Regions from separate parts of the Homo sapiens genome. Here regions 1, 3 and 4 are each linked to region 2. The links are contacts of gene promoters, found by promoter capture Hi-C in blood cells and fetal thymus (Javierre and others, 2016). All regions are on one chromosome and are shown on one strand. Each heading gives the region's core, a stretch centred on a gene start or on the middle of the fragment in contact. The rest is flanking DNA. Distances are from core to core; before and after follow the strand shown. Region 1 overlaps RBM33 (RNA binding motif protein 33). Region 2 holds the start of EN2 (engrailed homeobox 2). Region 3 overlaps RBM33 (RNA binding motif protein 33). Region 4 holds the start of RBM33 (RNA binding motif protein 33).

Region 1 (3,883 bases), core at 1,036-3,535, 220 kb after region 2:
TTTAAGAAGAAAAGCAAGTTGATTTTTCTGTCTTTACTTTTTAAGAATGAATATGTGTGAATGACAGTGTGTGTGTGGCTTTGACTGGCTTTCGTGAAGGGAGTAGTAATTTACATATACCATTTATACATATAAGTAATTTTAAAAAGGGAGGAACGTGTGAAGTAGTGTGAATAAGTAGTGAGACAGTGTGAATAACACCCCCCCAACCTAATCTAAGATGCTCAAATATATATAACCTAAGAAAACCTGGAACTCTTGACAGAATAGCTAGGCTCTCTCTCCTTATAGGTAGGAGTACCATCAAGAACAGGAGTGGGGAACTGAGCTGCTAACATTTATTTTCATACGTGATCTGTACTGGAAAAACCAAAGTTTTATAGTCTCATTTCAATTTAATGATTCAGTTATTTAAATCTTATTTCTAAAATTACACTTTTTGTGTTGTTTAAAAAATCTTTAGGTTTTGGATATTAGCATGTTAAATTTAGTAGTACCTTAAGGATATCTTTCTTTTTTTGTGTATTATAAGGAAATATTATTTGTTCGTAAGCTTCCACCAATGGACTTCTTACCTTTTCTCTTTTGTGTGAGAATAAATGTGATCGTTACACTTGGTGTTTTTACATTTAACTTGCCTGGGCACCTGAAGCTGAGCCCAGGAGGGATCCACATGCCTTGTGTGGGATTTCTTGATTATCCACTGGTGACCAGAAAGCCTTCCGGGTGGCAAACGTTTTAATATAAGGCTAGGAACAATTCAGTCAGTGTAATTTTGTGCTTTTTAACAAGTCTTTTTATGGAAGTGACACACATTAATTATATTTCTTATTTTAATTAGAATCAGTCGGATTTGTCAGATGAAGAGCTAAATGATGATCTTTTGCAGAGTGATAATGAAGATGAAGAAAATTTCAGGTACTCAATATTACCTCATTATAAATGTTCTTTATTTAACTAAATTGATAGGAACTGTTATTTATAATTATAATGGAATGTAATTGAATAATGTAGCCTTATATCTTTAACACATGATTACATTCTAAATGGAATACTAGTAATAACTGTAGAAGCCATATGGATGTTCTGTAAACAGAGCAGCTGTTTAAAATAAGCAGTTCTTGGCCAGGCGTTGTAGCTCGTGCCTATAAACCCAGCACTTTGGGAGGCTGAGGCAGGTGGATCACTTGAGGTCAGGAGTTTGAGACCAGCCTGGTTAACATGGTGAAACCCTGTCTCTACTAAAAATACAAAAATTAGCCAGGCGTAGTGGCCCGCGCCTATAGTCCCAGCTACTTGGAGGGCTGAAGCAGGAGAATTGCTTGATCCACAGAGGTGGAGGTTGCAGTGAGCCGAGATTGTGCCACTGCACTCCAGCCTGGGAGACAGAGTGAAACGCCGTCTTAAAAAAAAAAAAACAAAAAACAAAAAATCAGTAGGTCTTTCATTTAATGATCCCTGTGAGTTCTGTTCAGTGCAGGTTATGAAGATTTAGTATGGATATATGCTGCTTTTCTAAAGAATTCCTCTACTCGGATGGAGGGCAGTGGCTTGGGACTCTCAACACCATTGCAGTTCGATACTGCTGCATTTGTCTTCATTTTAGCCAGTTGATTTAGATCATTTACTGAATTACCATTTTGGGCACTTTGGGAGGTGCTACTTTAGACTCTAGTTGACTGATACGATGAATGTCTTTCTGTTGACATATAGTAAGCTATATTAAAAGAGGAGAGACACACTGGTAGGTGGAATAATAGTTTTTATTTTATGAGGAAACATCGGGAAAATGTAGACAAGCTCTTGTTATAAATGTAATTAACAAATATATGCCATTTATTATTGAGCCATGGATTTGTAACAGATTTTCTAACATAAAGTAATTTTTACAGGTAAAAATAAGTTTTAAATTATTCTACCAGTCAGATAAATTTCCCAATTCCATTCTTTGACATCACTGTTATATTTTAATCTTTTGAGTTAGATTGTCTTTTAGAAATACATCATTGAAGTTTTTTAGACACAGTATCTTGAAGTCTAAGAGGTGTATTAATTTTTTGTTAGGATTGAGTGCTATGTGTGAACACAGATTTGCACGATCTTACATGGGAAATGTTATCTTGCACCTTATTGTTTGGTATTTAACTGTTGTGATTTAATAGGTGGAACATGTTTTTTTTGCAGTTTCAAAACCTTTGTTATTTTACTTAGAAATTATGAACAATTTTTAAAGATATTTGTGACTAATATAAATTTATTTATTTGAACACTGAAATGTATTTTCACACAAATTTTTAATATTTTGATTTTCTTAAACAGGAGTTTATAATTTCTATCACAGATGTAAGAAAAAAATTGTTCTTAAAATTCCGATTCTGATTTTCTCCTTATAGAATAATACTCCTGTTTTTACTTTGAACTCTTAGCAGTTTCTGTCTATTTCATTTTGTAAATTAGAATGAAATATAGGCTATTTGATTTCAGTCTTGGACTTTTGCCACTCAGATGTGTTTCATCTGTGGTTGATTTAATTCATTTGGTCAAATAACCTGCAGCTGGTGATAAGTAGAGGGGCTATATGCATTGCCAGTCTGTGGCCGGCTCCATATAGCACAGTTAGCTCTGCTGTACGCATTAAGGGTTTAGGGCACTGGCTCTGTATAGCATTTTGAGTACTGTTGGAGTTAATGTGCATTTGTCAGTAACTGGAATAACTTTTTATCAGTCATGGTTTAAATCTTTGTAACAGCTATTTATATAATGATTTAGTTTGAGCTCCTCTCTTCATTGGGTGCTTTTTTTTTTTATTTTCGTCCTCTCTAGTTCTCAGGGTGTTACAATTAGTCTGAATGCTACATCTGGCATGGTTACATCATTTGAACTCTCTGACAACACTAACGACCAATCTGGAGAACAGGAATCTGAGTATGAACAAGAACAAGGAGAGGATGAACTGGTTTATCACAAATCTGATGGATCAGAATTGTATACTCAAGAGTACCCAGAAGAAGGACAGTATGAAGGCCACGAAGCTGAGTTGACAGAAGACCAAATAGAATATGTGGAAGAGCCAGAGGAGGAGCAGCTTTACACTGATGAAGTGTTAGACATCGAGATCAATGAACCTTTAGATGAATTTACAGTGAGTCTTTTCTCCTTTGTATGGCCAAAGATAACCTGGCTTCCCATGCATAGGCTTCTAGACTGATTTGAAATCTATTTACCTCCCCTGGGAGGGAGGGGAAATTAGACCTTATTATCACTCTCTGCCAGTTTCTTTATCTGAGCTATGACAAAGTTTGTGTTGACAGCTTGTTTGACCAGAGGTAATGCTCCTTTGTCATTCTGGAAGGCTGCAAAGAATCGTGACCTTGAGGATTGTACCCTAAGGAAGAAAACAGCTTTGTGTGGTGGGGATACACTGTCAATTGTTAGGAGTACTTAATGCAGAGCTTTTATCCTGGCTTTAGACAAGATCTGATAAAGTCCTTCTAAGGCGAAAAGATTATTGACCTGCTAAAGACATCTTTAAGGTGCTAATATTCCAGAGTGATTGATGTCCTGTTCATTCATCCTTTTTGTAGATGAGAACTGTCTAAACCTGAATAAAGAGATTGGAGGTTAGTTTAGGAAATGTCACATATAATTCGTTATCTATAATCAGGAAGCAAGATTGTGCTGATTTTTTATTTCAGAAAGATGATTTTGGTAGGTAGTTTTTTTTTTTCAAAGTTGAACCAACAAGAAAGAAAAAATGTACTAGTGTAAGATTCTCACCTTTAAATGACTCATTATCAAAAGAGATTTGTTTTTTAAAATAAGCATGTAACGAAATTTATGAGGGAAGGATGTGATCTCAGTAGCTGTAGTAGAATCTTAGGGT
Region 2 (4,074 bases), core at 497-2,996:
ATGTTTCCAGGAATTCACACATTTCCATAAAAATGCATTTTAAATGATGGACAGGCGAGCCTGGGGTAACAACGGGTGTTTGGTGGGTAGACAAGAGCAAATGGGAAGGAGCCCGAGGGAGGAGGGGGAAGAGAAGAGGAAACAGAACTTCCAGTTGGACATTCTGACAACAGCTGGAAGGAAAGTCTAGAAAAGATGAAGAGAGAGGAGGGGAGAAACCAACTGGGGCTCCCACCCTTGCCGTTGGATTCCTAATTCTCGTTTCAAATGGGCCCTGCTCTCCGGCAAAATTAGTTTAAAGGATTTTAAAACAAAGAAAACGAGATGACCGGTCTGGGAGCTCCTCAATCAGAGTAGAGAAGTTAGAGGGGGGCGGGCGACTTGGTTTTGAAGTCTTAGCTGAACAGTCACCCCTCCTCTCCTTGGCAAAAAGGATTCCTTTAGAACCTCCGAGGCTCCTGGATTTCTCCCTTCGCAAATGGAGCCGCATACTGCATTCCCCCGCTCTTTCGGATCGCTAAGCATGTTTCATGAGGGTCGCTGTCCCCGGGTGGAATGCGGCCGTATGCACGCGCCTCCCTGCACACGCACACACACGCACACTTACAATAAGTGTCTGCAGGAGGAGTGTCCTGCGCGCCAGCTCTGCGTTTAAGACAGGAAGCTGCCGGGTTACCGAGTCAAATGGGAGTGACACTATTCCTCTCCATCAGCAAGGAAAGCGGACCACAAAAGTCCCTTTGTATCTCGGCAGCTCATTTAATATTATTTATGCATTTTGTGCAAGGAATTGTGGGATTTCGCCCCACGGTAAACAATATGGAAATCTTAAAAATAGCGATCTTCCTGTGCGTGTCCACCTACGCGCCCCGGGGTGACCTGGCGGGGCTGTCGCCGGGTGACTCACACCCCTGAACCGCGAAGCGACAGGGAAAGCGCGGGCGAGCGCAGGAGACGCGGTCGGGGGTCTCTCCGGGTTCCTGGGCTCCCGCACCCGGAGCGGGGGACGCGGCCGCTTTAAGGGGAGGAGGGGCGGCGGGCTGCTCCTGTCACCCAGCGGCGGCCGGAGCGTCACGTGGGCGCGCGGCGCCGCGGCCATTGGCCCGAGGCACGTGTCCAGGAGACCGGCCTGCGACGTCACTCGAGGGGGCTCTGTTAAAAATAAGAACAAAAATCCAGAGTGAAAGTGTCTCAGGTTGCGCCGAGTGGCCTGGAAATTTCCGAGCCCGCGCGGAGGCCGAGGCGGCGAGGGCGGCGGACGGCCGGGGAGCGCGGGCGGCCCAGCCCGGCCCGGCCGGGCCCTGGCCTCGCGTCTCTCACCCATGCGACTCGGGCCGCGGAGCTCTGCGGGGCTCGGCGGGGGCGCGGCCGCACGCCGGTGGGGCGCCCCGGCCCGCAGCGGGGCGGCGGCCGCGAGGAGGGGGCCTCCATGTGCGTGCGGGCGGTGGCGGGCGCGCTGACCGCGGGCGCCCGGCACCCTCGAGGGCCGGCTAGGGCGTGCGGGCGGGGACGGCCGGGCGGCGGCGGCGGCCGGAGCCGGCCCGGGCGGGCGTGAGCGCCGGGGAACGCGCTGCCTGCATGCGCGCAGCTCTCGCCCCGGGCGGCCCAGGCGGCGGCGCCGGAGCCCGAGGCGGCCGGACGCGGAGAGGAGCGGGGAGCCCGGGAGGCGGCCCGCGTCCCCGCCGGACCACTGCGACTGTCTAGACCCCGGCTGCGCGGCGAAGTCGAGGACTTGGCTCTGTTGAATCTCTCATCGTCTGGGCGAGCGGGGCGGCTCGTGGTGTTTCTAACCCAGTTCGTGGATTCAAAGGTGGCTCCGCGCCGAGCGCGGCCGGCGACTTGTAGGACCTCAGCCCTGGCCGCGGCCGCCGCGCACGCCCTCGGAAGACTCGGCGGGGTGGGGGCGCGGGGGTCTCCGTGTGCGCCGCGGGAGGGCCGAAGGCTGATTTGGAAGGGCGTCCCCGGAGAACCAGTGTGGGATTTACTGTGAACAGCATGGAGGAGAATGACCCCAAGCCTGGCGAAGCAGCGGCGGCGGTGGAGGGACAGCGGCAGCCGGAATCCAGCCCCGGCGGCGGCTCGGGCGGCGGCGGCGGTAGCAGCCCGGGCGAAGCGGACACCGGGCGCCGGCGGGCTCTGATGCTGCCCGCGGTCCTGCAGGCGCCCGGCAACCACCAGCACCCGCACCGCATCACCAACTTCTTCATCGACAACATCCTGCGGCCCGAGTTCGGCCGGCGAAAGGACGCGGGGACCTGCTGTGCGGGCGCGGGAGGAGGAAGGGGCGGCGGAGCCGGCGGCGAAGGCGGCGCGAGCGGTGCGGAGGGAGGCGGCGGCGCGGGCGGCTCGGAGCAGCTCTTGGGCTCGGGCTCCCGAGAGCCCCGGCAGAACCCGCCATGTGCGCCCGGCGCGGGCGGGCCGCTCCCAGCCGCCGGCAGCGACTCTCCGGGTGACGGGGAAGGCGGCTCCAAGACGCTCTCGCTGCACGGTGGCGCCAAGAAAGGCGGCGACCCCGGCGGCCCCCTGGACGGGTCGCTCAAGGCCCGCGGCTTGGGCGGCGGCGACCTGTCGGTGAGCTCGGACTCGGACAGCTCGCAAGCCGGCGCCAACCTGGGCGCGCAGCCCATGCTCTGGCCGGCGTGGGTCTACTGTACGCGCTACTCGGACCGGCCTTCTTCAGGTGAGCCCGCGGGGACCACGCGTCCCGGCTCGCCGCGGGGAGGCCCGCGGAGCTGGGGGGCGGTGCTGGCGCGGGAACTTACCGGGAGGAAAACATCTCGAACCTCCCCCGCGCACACGCACAAAGACTCACGCGACATTGTGTGAAGCTGACGCCGGCCCGGGCAGCGGCCAGGAGTCCAGCGGCAGGACTGATTCGCTAGGGGGTACAGACTTCTTAGGACCGCAGAAGGGACCTTCTTTCTTTCTCTGTCTCTCTCTCTCCTTCCTCTCTCCCTGTCTCCCCTCTCTGTCTTCCACCCCGCCTTGGCGCATCTCTTCCCAGCCCCTAGCCCATGTCTCCCCCACTGTAGTTTTTTTTGGTGGGAACGTGGTGGCTGGAAGATGGGCCCGGAAGTGCACACTCTCATCCCCTTCCCTACGATCTTCCAACTCAGGCCAGGCCGGGGACGCATGCCCCAGCCCACCCCAGACTTGTCCTACCATCCGGTTATCCCGGCTGTGCTCGGGGAAGAAAAGGCGAGGCCCTTTGCCGCTCTGCCTTCTGCCCCTCGGGCCTGCGCTGACCGGTGGGACTCAGGAGGATGCACACAGGGAAGGAGGAAAATAAAGGCGCCCTTTCCCCTTGGCTCCACTTTGTTTGCCAGCGCCAGCCCGCAGTGGTGGGGCTCAGCCCCCTTCCTGCACACAGCGAGGACAAGGGAGGCAGCCGTCCCTCCCGGCACCTGCCATCCCCAAATAGAAAGGACCTTCTCTCAGGGTTTCCTGGGGGCTGCTGATGGGAAAGAGGCAGCATTCGCAGGGGCCCTGCAGAGATGCTGGATATATTTTTTCATAGATCTGCGATTTTAAAAAACTAAGTCCATGTCCTTGTAGAAATCATCAACTGCATTCCATGCGGGTCTGCGGCTGGGAACCGCCATTAGAAGTGGACTGTTTGACCCCGAGCTGGCAGCGGATCCCCGCTGCCCCCAAACCCTCAACTATTTTGCGGGGGTCATTTGCCCAGATCACAGCAGGAGTGAGCCAACCCTTGGGCCGCCATCCCGCAGAACTATGCGTGCATATTTCTGATGAAATTCAGATTTCTCAGCTAGATCTGAAATTTGCTCCATTGTTCTCGTCTTCCTCCTTTGTTAATATTTAATTAACATACAGGCTCACAATGCCGGGCGAGGAGACTCGGCCGGGCTTTGTGCGGCGCGGGAGTTCGCTGAGCCAGCCCCCAACGGCCCGGGAGCTGGGCAGCACCGCCCGGCCCGGCCTGGCCCGGCCCAGCTCAGCCCAGCCCAAGTCGCCTATCTTCATGGGCTTTAAAATATCCCTGCAAGATAATGTTTCTGTTCTTTGGTTTCTCCGAAAGAAAGGGGAGAGAGAGTTTTCTTGGGGAGGTTT
Region 3 (4,061 bases), core at 422-2,921, 240 kb after region 2:
GTGAATAACTACTTAAAAGTCTGGTTAGGATTTTGATAGAGAATGGATAGTGTTTTTAAATCATATTGGGAGACACTAACATCTTAATAATCATATTGCCTGTTAATAATGACAGTTTTAAAATTCTTCCTTTTCAATCTATATCCATTTCTTTCTTTCTTTTGTATCATTGACCTCCGGTACTCTGTGACTAGAAACATTCAGGACAGACATTCTTACCTATTCCTGATGTTAGGGGGAAAATGTTTATTTCATCATTAAGTATGCTAGCTGTACGTTTTTATATCAGATTGAAGAAGGTCTTTTCTATTTTGAGTTTGCTGGGATTTTCTTAAAAATCAGAAATGGGTATTGAATTTTGTTGATGCTTCTTTTTTGCATCTATTGAGATAATTATATGGCTTTTATTCCTTATTGTGAATTAAATTAACTTAAAAAAATGATGAACCATGTTCCAGATTTTATTTCCATTTGACTGGTTTTTCTCTTCATGACCTCTCACTGGTCTAGGACCCAAGCCACATAACCCATCGTTGTCTCTCCATTCCCCTTTGTTGTGTGACAGTTTCTTAGTGTTTCCCTGTATTTCATGACCTTGACAGCTTTAGGAAGTGCTGGCCGAGTATGCTGTATGATGTCTCCCAATCTCAGTTTGTTTGACGCTTTTTTCATGATTAGCTTGAGGTTGTGGATTTTGGAAAGAACACTATGGAACCCTTGTGCCACTGGGCGCATGACATCCACAACGCCCCTGGCAATGCCCACCTTGGTCATTTGGGTCAAGCAGTGTCTGCCAGTTTTCTTCATTGTAATGTTGCTTTCTCTTTCCTTATTCAGTTCTTTGGAAACAAGTCACTAAGTGTAGGCTACCTTAAGGGATGGGGTTCTGGGGAGAGGGGAGGAAAGCAACTTAAGCCCCACCTCCTGGAGGAGGAGGAGGAGGAGTATCTCCATAGATTTGGAATTCTTCAGGTAAGATTTGACTGATTTTTGAGTGTTAACGTCATGTTTCTGGATAAACCCCACTTGGTTGTGATGTATTATCCTTTTTATATTTGGTGAGATTCCGTGTACTTTTACTTTTAAAAAAGATTTTGTTTCTGTATTAATGAAGGACACTGGTCTGTAATTCTTTTTCTTCTAATTTTTGCACAGTTTGCTTAGTCTTTCCAACCCATAAATTTTCACTGTTGGTAGAATGACTTTCATTTTTATTTGATGATGTATCAATAATTCTATCAATAAGCATTAAAAACTTAGTGAGCTTTTTGTAAGCAATGTTTTCTCTTTTGCACTCTCTCTCTCTCTATATATATAGATTTGTGTGTGTGTGTGTGTGGTGTATGTGTTTCAGAGAACTACCCATTGTTTCTGTTTAGATTTTGGGATAGAATATTGAATTTTCTTTCAGAACACTGAGATCATACTTTCATTTCAGAATTAGCTGGAGAACTTCAAAATATATACAAGTCTGAGTATTTTTCCCTCTTTGCTTTTCCAGTTCTTTCTACATTTACGAAATAAAGCCTAAGTGGACCTCTCTGTTTTTTTAAGTACTTTGATGGTGATTTTCATATGCAGTCTGTATTAAGGATTAAAAATAAATCTTTCAGGTTTTCACAATAAATCAGTAACTAAAAATCAAACCTTTGACTATTTTTGTCAATGTCTATAGTGAAATGAAAGATTTACATGCACATTTAAATGTTTACACAACATAATCTTAGGATAGTTTGATTTTTATGTTGTAGCAGCACACTACCCATCAGTGGAATGTAGCTTGTCAATGGCATGCTAGGTAATATTTGTTAAAAATTATACAGAAGGCCAGGCGTGGTGGCTCAGGCCTGTAATCCCAGCACTCTGGGAGGCCGAGGTCGGTAGATCACGAGGTCAGGATTTTGAGACCAGCCTGACCAACATGGTGATACCCCGTCTCTACTAAAAATACAAAAATTAGCCTGGCGTGGTGGTGGACGCCTGTGATCTCAGCTACTCGGGAGGCTGAAGCAGGAGAATTGCTTGAACCTGGGAGGCAGAGGTTGTCGTGAGCTGAGATCGCACCACTGCACTCCAGCCTGGGCAACAGAGCAAGACTCCATCTCAGGGAAAAAAAAAAATTATACAGGAGGTCAACGTTTTGGTAGACAGGTTAGTTTTCTAAACCATATGGTGAAGGGGGATGGATTTTTTAAGCCCCATATTTAGAATAAGAGGCTGAAGAATTAAGTCTAGCTTAGTGGATGTTGTCAAATGGGCTGCAGTTAAGCAAGTGCTATCAGCCGTGTTTGGTGGTTTGTCAGGTTAGTTTCCCTAATCTTTGATGTAGTTCAAGGATTAACTGAGCCCCAAGATTTGGACCAGAAGTTTGCATTCTAGGATGGTTCCATCACTCAAAAATATTCCTTGTGCTATCCTTTTGTGGCCATACCTTTCCTTCTTTCCTAACCACTGGTTACCAGTGTAATTTTGTTCCTTGGAGAATATCATATAAATGGAATCATTGCAGTGTATAACCCTTTGAGATTGACTTGTTTTACTCAGTATAATGATGCCTTTATGGTTTTATCCCTGTTATGTCAATAGACCTATTGCGAAGTAGCATTCTGTGGTTTGGATGTACAAGAGTTTATCCATTCATTCATTGAAGGACATTTAAGTGTTTCCAGTTGTAGTGATCCTGAATAGAATAAACATTTTCCTATAGGTCTATTTGAACATAAGGTATCATTTCTCTAGGGTAAATATCTAGGAAGAAACAATTTTCAACTCATCTTTATCCTCTTTAGATTTCTTAGATGGAGATTTGGATGCAGAATAAGCTATATTAATTTCCGTGCTGTCTTGTTTTACATTAAACTTGTTTGGAAAGTCTTTGAACTGTGCTTACAGTTGTTAATAGTTGAATTGAAGATGACTTTGTAGAATCTTTGCTTTGTTGGTAGTGATTTCTTTTCCTCCCTTTTGGACTTGCTACTCTACTCAGTGTAGTCTGTGGACCTGAAATGTTGGCGTCACCTGGGAGCTTGTTAGAAATGCAGAACCCCAGGCCCCATCCTGAATCGGCTGAGTCAGAATCTGCTTTTCAACATGATTCCCACTGATGACTGGGCATTGAATTGGAGAAGTGCTGCTCTAGAGCATCATGGGAGCGGAGAATAGACGTCCTAAGGAAGCTGGCTTTGGTTCTGTTGGGAAGTGTGGTGCAGCACGTACCTTGCAGGCATCCATTCTGATTTCAAACACTCAGTAGTACAGAAATAACGGTATCAAACCAGCAAAAATCCTGAGATTTTGGTACTTTAAAATTCTACGGTATGCTGGACGTCAGCATACTGAGTGGGGGTATTGTAATTGTCAGGCTTAAGGTGAAAGTTGTAGTTTACTGTCATCTCCTGCTGTTCAGGCATTTGCTCTCCGAAAGATCTTTTTCCACTGGGAGGATTTATAGTAGAGTGTGCATTTGTAGTTGGTCTTTTTACACAGAAAATACTGAAAAAGGCAAGAATATAAAATGATTGTGTCATTGGTTTGTTTTCATTTTTTTCTTGTGCATTTTCTAATAAAGTTCACTGTTACTTCTATTAAGAGTAAATAACATTTACATATTACAAATCATGAGACTAAAGGAGCAAATATATTCTCCTTACATTGATAAAAAGTATCTAAATTAACCTTGCTCTCTGTAGGTACTTATTTTATGTCTAAGAGTGGGTCACAGAGACTGATCTGAGGTGAGAGGTGATTCTTTCACTAGGAACATGAGTGATACTTGGCAGTAAGAATTGTCCACAAAGAAATTACTTTTAATTTGGGCTGGGGTTAGGGAAAATTTTTGTAGGGAATACTGATATAATAAAATTTCAGATAAAAGCTGGTTTTAGTGTGACGACATGACTGAAGAAAAAAAGTTTCTCCTTTTCAATAGTCTCAGTCAAAGATAGTGATAAATTAACTCTAGACAGTGAGATTGAAGTAAAAAGGAGTGAGAAATGATGAAAGGATTTTGGAGGCTACATCAGTAGAACGGCACATTTGGACTGCTTGTCTGGCAGTGAAGG
Region 4 (4,022 bases), core at 59-2,558, 190 kb after region 2:
GTTGGTCAGGCTGGTCTCAAACTCCTGACCTCGTGATCCACCCACCTCAGCCTCCCAAAGTGGTGGGATTACAGGCGTGAGCCACCGCGCCCGGCCAGCATTTTATTATACGTACCGTTTTATCATCTCTTCACCCATCCACCAATGCATCTCCTGTATGGACGTCTTGATTGTTAACTCACGGCACTGGACCTCCAGTTTCATGCCTCTCCACATTGCAGGGTCCTCTACGTTGTTGTATCAGTCACCTTTCTAAAATACAAATCTTACCATGTAAATTGTTTCTAAAATCTTTCAATAGACCCCATAGACTCAGAAAAACGTCCCAAAGTCCGGAATCCTGGCCCCTGCCTACCTTTCCAGTTTCATTGCTGGGTCAGAACGCCTCACCTAAGCCCCACATTGACCGATATGGAATCAATGTTTACAGCCGGTGTGTACTTAATCAACCCCCTTCCCCGACTGCGACCACTCAGATGCGCCTTCCCGGGCCCCACACCCCAAAACCCCTGAGCCCTTTCGTCCACAGCTGTCTGACCACCCAGCACCCTTTCCTTTATGTCAAGTATGAGGATTTCGTTTCTTAACCTTTCTCACTGCTCAAAATGCAAACTCAGACATGAGTGCCGGGCGCTATCCGTCCTGCTCACGTCTTGTTCTCAGGGCCGCAAGGCGCAGGGGCAGTAAGGGCCGAGAGCCCATCAGGGTCCGGCGCTGCCCGCTGCCCAGCCGGGCGCGGAGAAGGGGACGGGGGTCCGGGGTCGCGGGTCCGGAGGGTCTCGGGTTGTAGGAAGTGAGGGCTCGCGGGCGCCGCACGAGTGCGCGTGCACGTTAGCCCGGCGCGCGCGGCACTCATCTCACCTCGCGGAAGCACCTGCCGGAGCTGTGTGCACCCTTTCCTGCCCTCAACACAAGCCGTCGGCGTTCACTACTGTAGCTCATTCAGACCCCACTCTCCAACCTACTGTCCAGGCACAGAAACGACAGTTAAGGTTCCCCCGGACCGTACGCTGGACCTTGCCTCCCCGGCTCCTAACGGGAGACGGGCTGCCGTAAAGCTTCGCTTTGCCGACTGCTGCAAAGCGCCTTACGACTGAACCCGGAATCGACCTATGGCCAGCAGTCGTCCCCGCCCTGCTTCAAACATTTGGGTTTCAGGAGCCGGGCGGAGGTGACTGCCGCGTGTTTGCGTTGCACGCCCACCGCCCGAAACACGGCGGCGGCCTCAGGGCTGCTGCGGCCTCGGCGGGGGCAGGCCCCGGCGCCCGCCCGCCTCCCGGCCTCCATCATCCCAGGGTGCACCGCGGCGGGCGCGGGCGCGCGGCCATGTTGCGGTAGTTTGTTGTTTTCTTCCTGCGGAGGCGAAGGGCCAGCTGTGGACCGCGAAGCGCCCGGCTTCGCCTCTGCCTCCTGCAGCCCCCTCCCTTCTCTGTCCTCCGTCACCCGTACCCGGGCCCGGACCAGGCACGTCGGCCCACCAGCTGGCTTGGTGGGGGAGGCTGAAGGCCGGGCCCCGCGAGTGCCATGGCGGCCGCCCTGGGAGCGAGCGGAGGAGCAGGCGCCGGAGGTACGTGAGGCAGCCGGACTCTGGGGGCCAGGACCGCGCCGCGGTGGGCGGGGGTGTAGGCCGGGGGGCCTCCCCGCTTAGGAGAGGACGAGGCTCTCCCCGGCTCCGACTCTCTTTGTGTTCGGCCTATTCCGTTTTCTCCCTCGCCTTCCCTCGCTATTGTCATTCTCCCTTTCTCGCTCCTCCTCTCCGCTGTGCAGATCGTACTTACCTGTGAACTTCTGTGTGTCCTCTACTTTGCAAGGCTGCCTAAGTGTCAGGCCCATCTCTGGCGTTGGCGGGCATTAAGTGCCGAAGCCGGCCTGGTGTCCTATGGGTAGGAGAGCGCCCCCCCCACCCCCCGAGACAGTGTCACTTAGGGAGAGCGGGGCAGGTCGCTGTAGGGTGGGTGTTTAAGATTGTGGGGCCATCCTGACAGATTTAGATTGATTTGAAGCCCATTACAAAAACATAACGAAAAGATTCACCTGTGTGAAGGAATGTGCGACAGTAGGCCAGTTTGGAAAGTGAGATTTCTTGAGAAAGTCTCAATAAATCCCTGTTTTAAATTAACTTATTTGTTGTCTAATAACCTGTTAGTGTTTTATGTGCGTCTTCCAAAAGTGAAAACGTGACACAAAAGGTTTAGATACTGAGTCAGTTCCTTTGGATAGTTTTTCTTGTTTGCAAGCATAAACAGTATTGATGAAACACCTATCTCTAAAAAATTGTAGGTAAATTACTTTCAGGTAAAATTACATATCACTGGGGGTTTTAAAAACGTGGAGAGATACTTGAAAGTGACTTTTTAAGTGATTATTTTGAAAACTTTGAAAAGATGGTAAAATATGGATAACAAAAGCATTTGGGATTAGTTCTTACCATTGAAACGTTGAAAAGCCAGTCTAGTGTATACTCGAGAAGTATTTTTTAGTAAATGCTAGCAGATGGTTACGTTGTTATCATCCTGTTTAGGAATTTTGGCCCAACTGTCAAAACGTTTGCCTGACAAAATGGAAAAACAAAAAAGACTAAGTGTAGGAATGTCGCTTCTGGCAATTTGGTTTGCTATATGCCACTTTTCTTTCAGTTTAAATACATGATGTTTGCGTGTTACATCTGAGACTAATTAAAATTTTAAAATGTATAGTTCACCTATCTTTCTGGGGGTCAGAATTACTTGTTTTATAGCATTCCCAGTGTAACCTGGGAACTCTTGGGTGAACACTCTTTTCATTAGAAAGACTAAGGTGTTATTTGTATTTTTTCTCTTTTCTTTCAGTAGTGTACAGTGGAGTTTTCTAGAGGCTGAATAACATGTGAAGACGTTATGCTGATGGCTAATGGAATATATGCTTGTGTATTCTTTTACGTTTCTCATTTTAAATTTCTAAAATAGTAATATCACTGAATGTAATCCAGATAAACAGGCATTTTTGGGTCTTCAATAATTTTGAGGTCAGAAGTTTTGAGAATTGCTATTTTAGAAGAATAAGTAGGCTTTATTCATGATGCTTTGGAGTTTTTCCTTCCATTTTGTCACAAGTGCCAAAGTTTCCTTTGCTCTTCATACCAAACTCCTTGCCAAGATTTGTGAGTTCTGTATGACTTGGTCCCTGCCTACCCCACCAGCATGTTGTGTGATTGCTTCCTTTATCCTGGAAGTTCATCGCATGGACTGCTCCTGTACCCGCTCTTGCCAGGGCTGACTCCTGATCCAGTGGATCTCACGCTTTTAAGGGAGGCTTTCCTTGAGAATTCATTGTATCTGAGGAATGTATGTCCGTTGCTCTTGTGCCTCTCTTGTCTTCATTCTCTAGCACCTTTGTTTGTTTTCTTCAGAACGTTTATCTTAATTTGTAATTTTCTTCAGTTTTTACTTGTTTTTTAAATCTGCCTCCCACAGTAGCCTGTAAACCTCATGAGGACAAAAATGCTACCTGTTTTACCATGCGTTCCACGTGTTCCTGGCACATAGCATGTGTTCAACAAACATTTGGTGAATGAATTAAAGGATGAAATGTTTTCTTTACGAATAGGAAATAATATAATTGTATGCTAAGTTATGTTAGTCATTTCCACGTGATTTACCTGTGTAACTGATTAAATCATGTTAGCTTGGAGAAATATTTACATTGGTAATACCTTATTGAGCTATCGATAGCTTATTTGGCAGCTCAGTTTAGCATATTGTCTAGCACAGTGACTTTCAAACTTCTTAAAATGGCAGCCACAGAAATGTGATTGACATTGTGATTTAGTACATACATAAAAGTTAAAAAAAATTTCATGAACAATACTGGTCCATACTATGCCATGCACTCTAATGTTTTCTATTTCATTACAGTAAAATGCTGGTTGTGACCTGGATTAATTTCACAACCTACAAAATGTTCGAGATTGTCAGTTTGAAAATCACTGGTCTCTTGTATAGTAAGTGGTTAGTATTTATTGAATAAAATAGGTCTTGGCTATC

What was found. The method cuts DNA at HindIII sites, captures the fragments that hold promoters and counts their contacts. A CHiCAGO score of 5 or more calls a contact.
Region 1: a contact is called between a fragment that was not itself captured here and the fragment with the promoter of EN2 in region 2, in 1 of 17 cell types (neutrophils). The highest score is 5.2, in neutrophils.
Region 3: a contact is called between a fragment that was not itself captured here and the fragment with the promoter of EN2 in region 2, in 1 of 17 cell types (neutrophils). The highest score is 5.0, in neutrophils.
Region 4: a contact is called between the fragment with the promoter of RBM33 here and the fragment with the promoter of EN2 in region 2, in 6 of 17 cell types (neutrophils, monocytes, fetal thymus and 3 more). The highest score is 24.8, in neutrophils.

Annotation. Positions count from the first base shown.
Region 1 is chr7:155,677,767-155,681,649 of GRCh38, forward strand. It overlaps RBM33 (RNA binding motif protein 33), which reads left to right. Exons shown (of 18, transcript NM_053043.3): 4 at 842-918; 5 at 2,824-3,142. Among named protein-coding and RNA genes, the nearest start is that of RBM33, 35 kb to the left of the region's middle. The HindIII fragment of the contact is 3,468 bases long and covers 552-3,883 here.
Region 2 is chr7:155,456,383-155,460,456 of GRCh38, forward strand. EN2 (engrailed homeobox 2) reads left to right here and starts at 1,747. Exons shown (of 2, transcript NM_001427.4): 1 at 1,747-2,680. The coding sequence starts at 1,996. EN2-DT (EN2 divergent transcript) reads right to left here and starts at 736. Exons shown (of 3, transcript NR_186580.1): 1 at 608-736. RefSeq lists an enhancer at 409-1,400. The HindIII fragment of the contact is 14,368 bases long and covers 1-4,074 here.
Region 3 is chr7:155,696,262-155,700,322 of GRCh38, forward strand. The region is part of intron 5 of RBM33 (RNA binding motif protein 33); the gene reads left to right. Among named protein-coding and RNA genes, the nearest start is that of RBM33, 54 kb to the left of the region's middle. The HindIII fragment of the contact is 7,040 bases long and covers 1-4,061 here.
Region 4 is chr7:155,643,353-155,647,374 of GRCh38, forward strand. It overlaps RBM33 (RNA binding motif protein 33), which reads left to right and starts at 1,309. Exons shown (of 18, transcript NM_053043.3): 1 at 1,309-1,567. The coding sequence starts at 1,525. It overlaps RBM33-DT (RBM33 divergent transcript), which reads right to left and starts at 1,054. Exons shown (of 3, transcript NR_126344.1): 1 at 862-1,054; 2 at 116-252. RefSeq lists an enhancer at 248-1,202 and a silencer at 1,127-1,636. The HindIII fragment of the contact is 4,649 bases long and covers 1,057-4,022 here.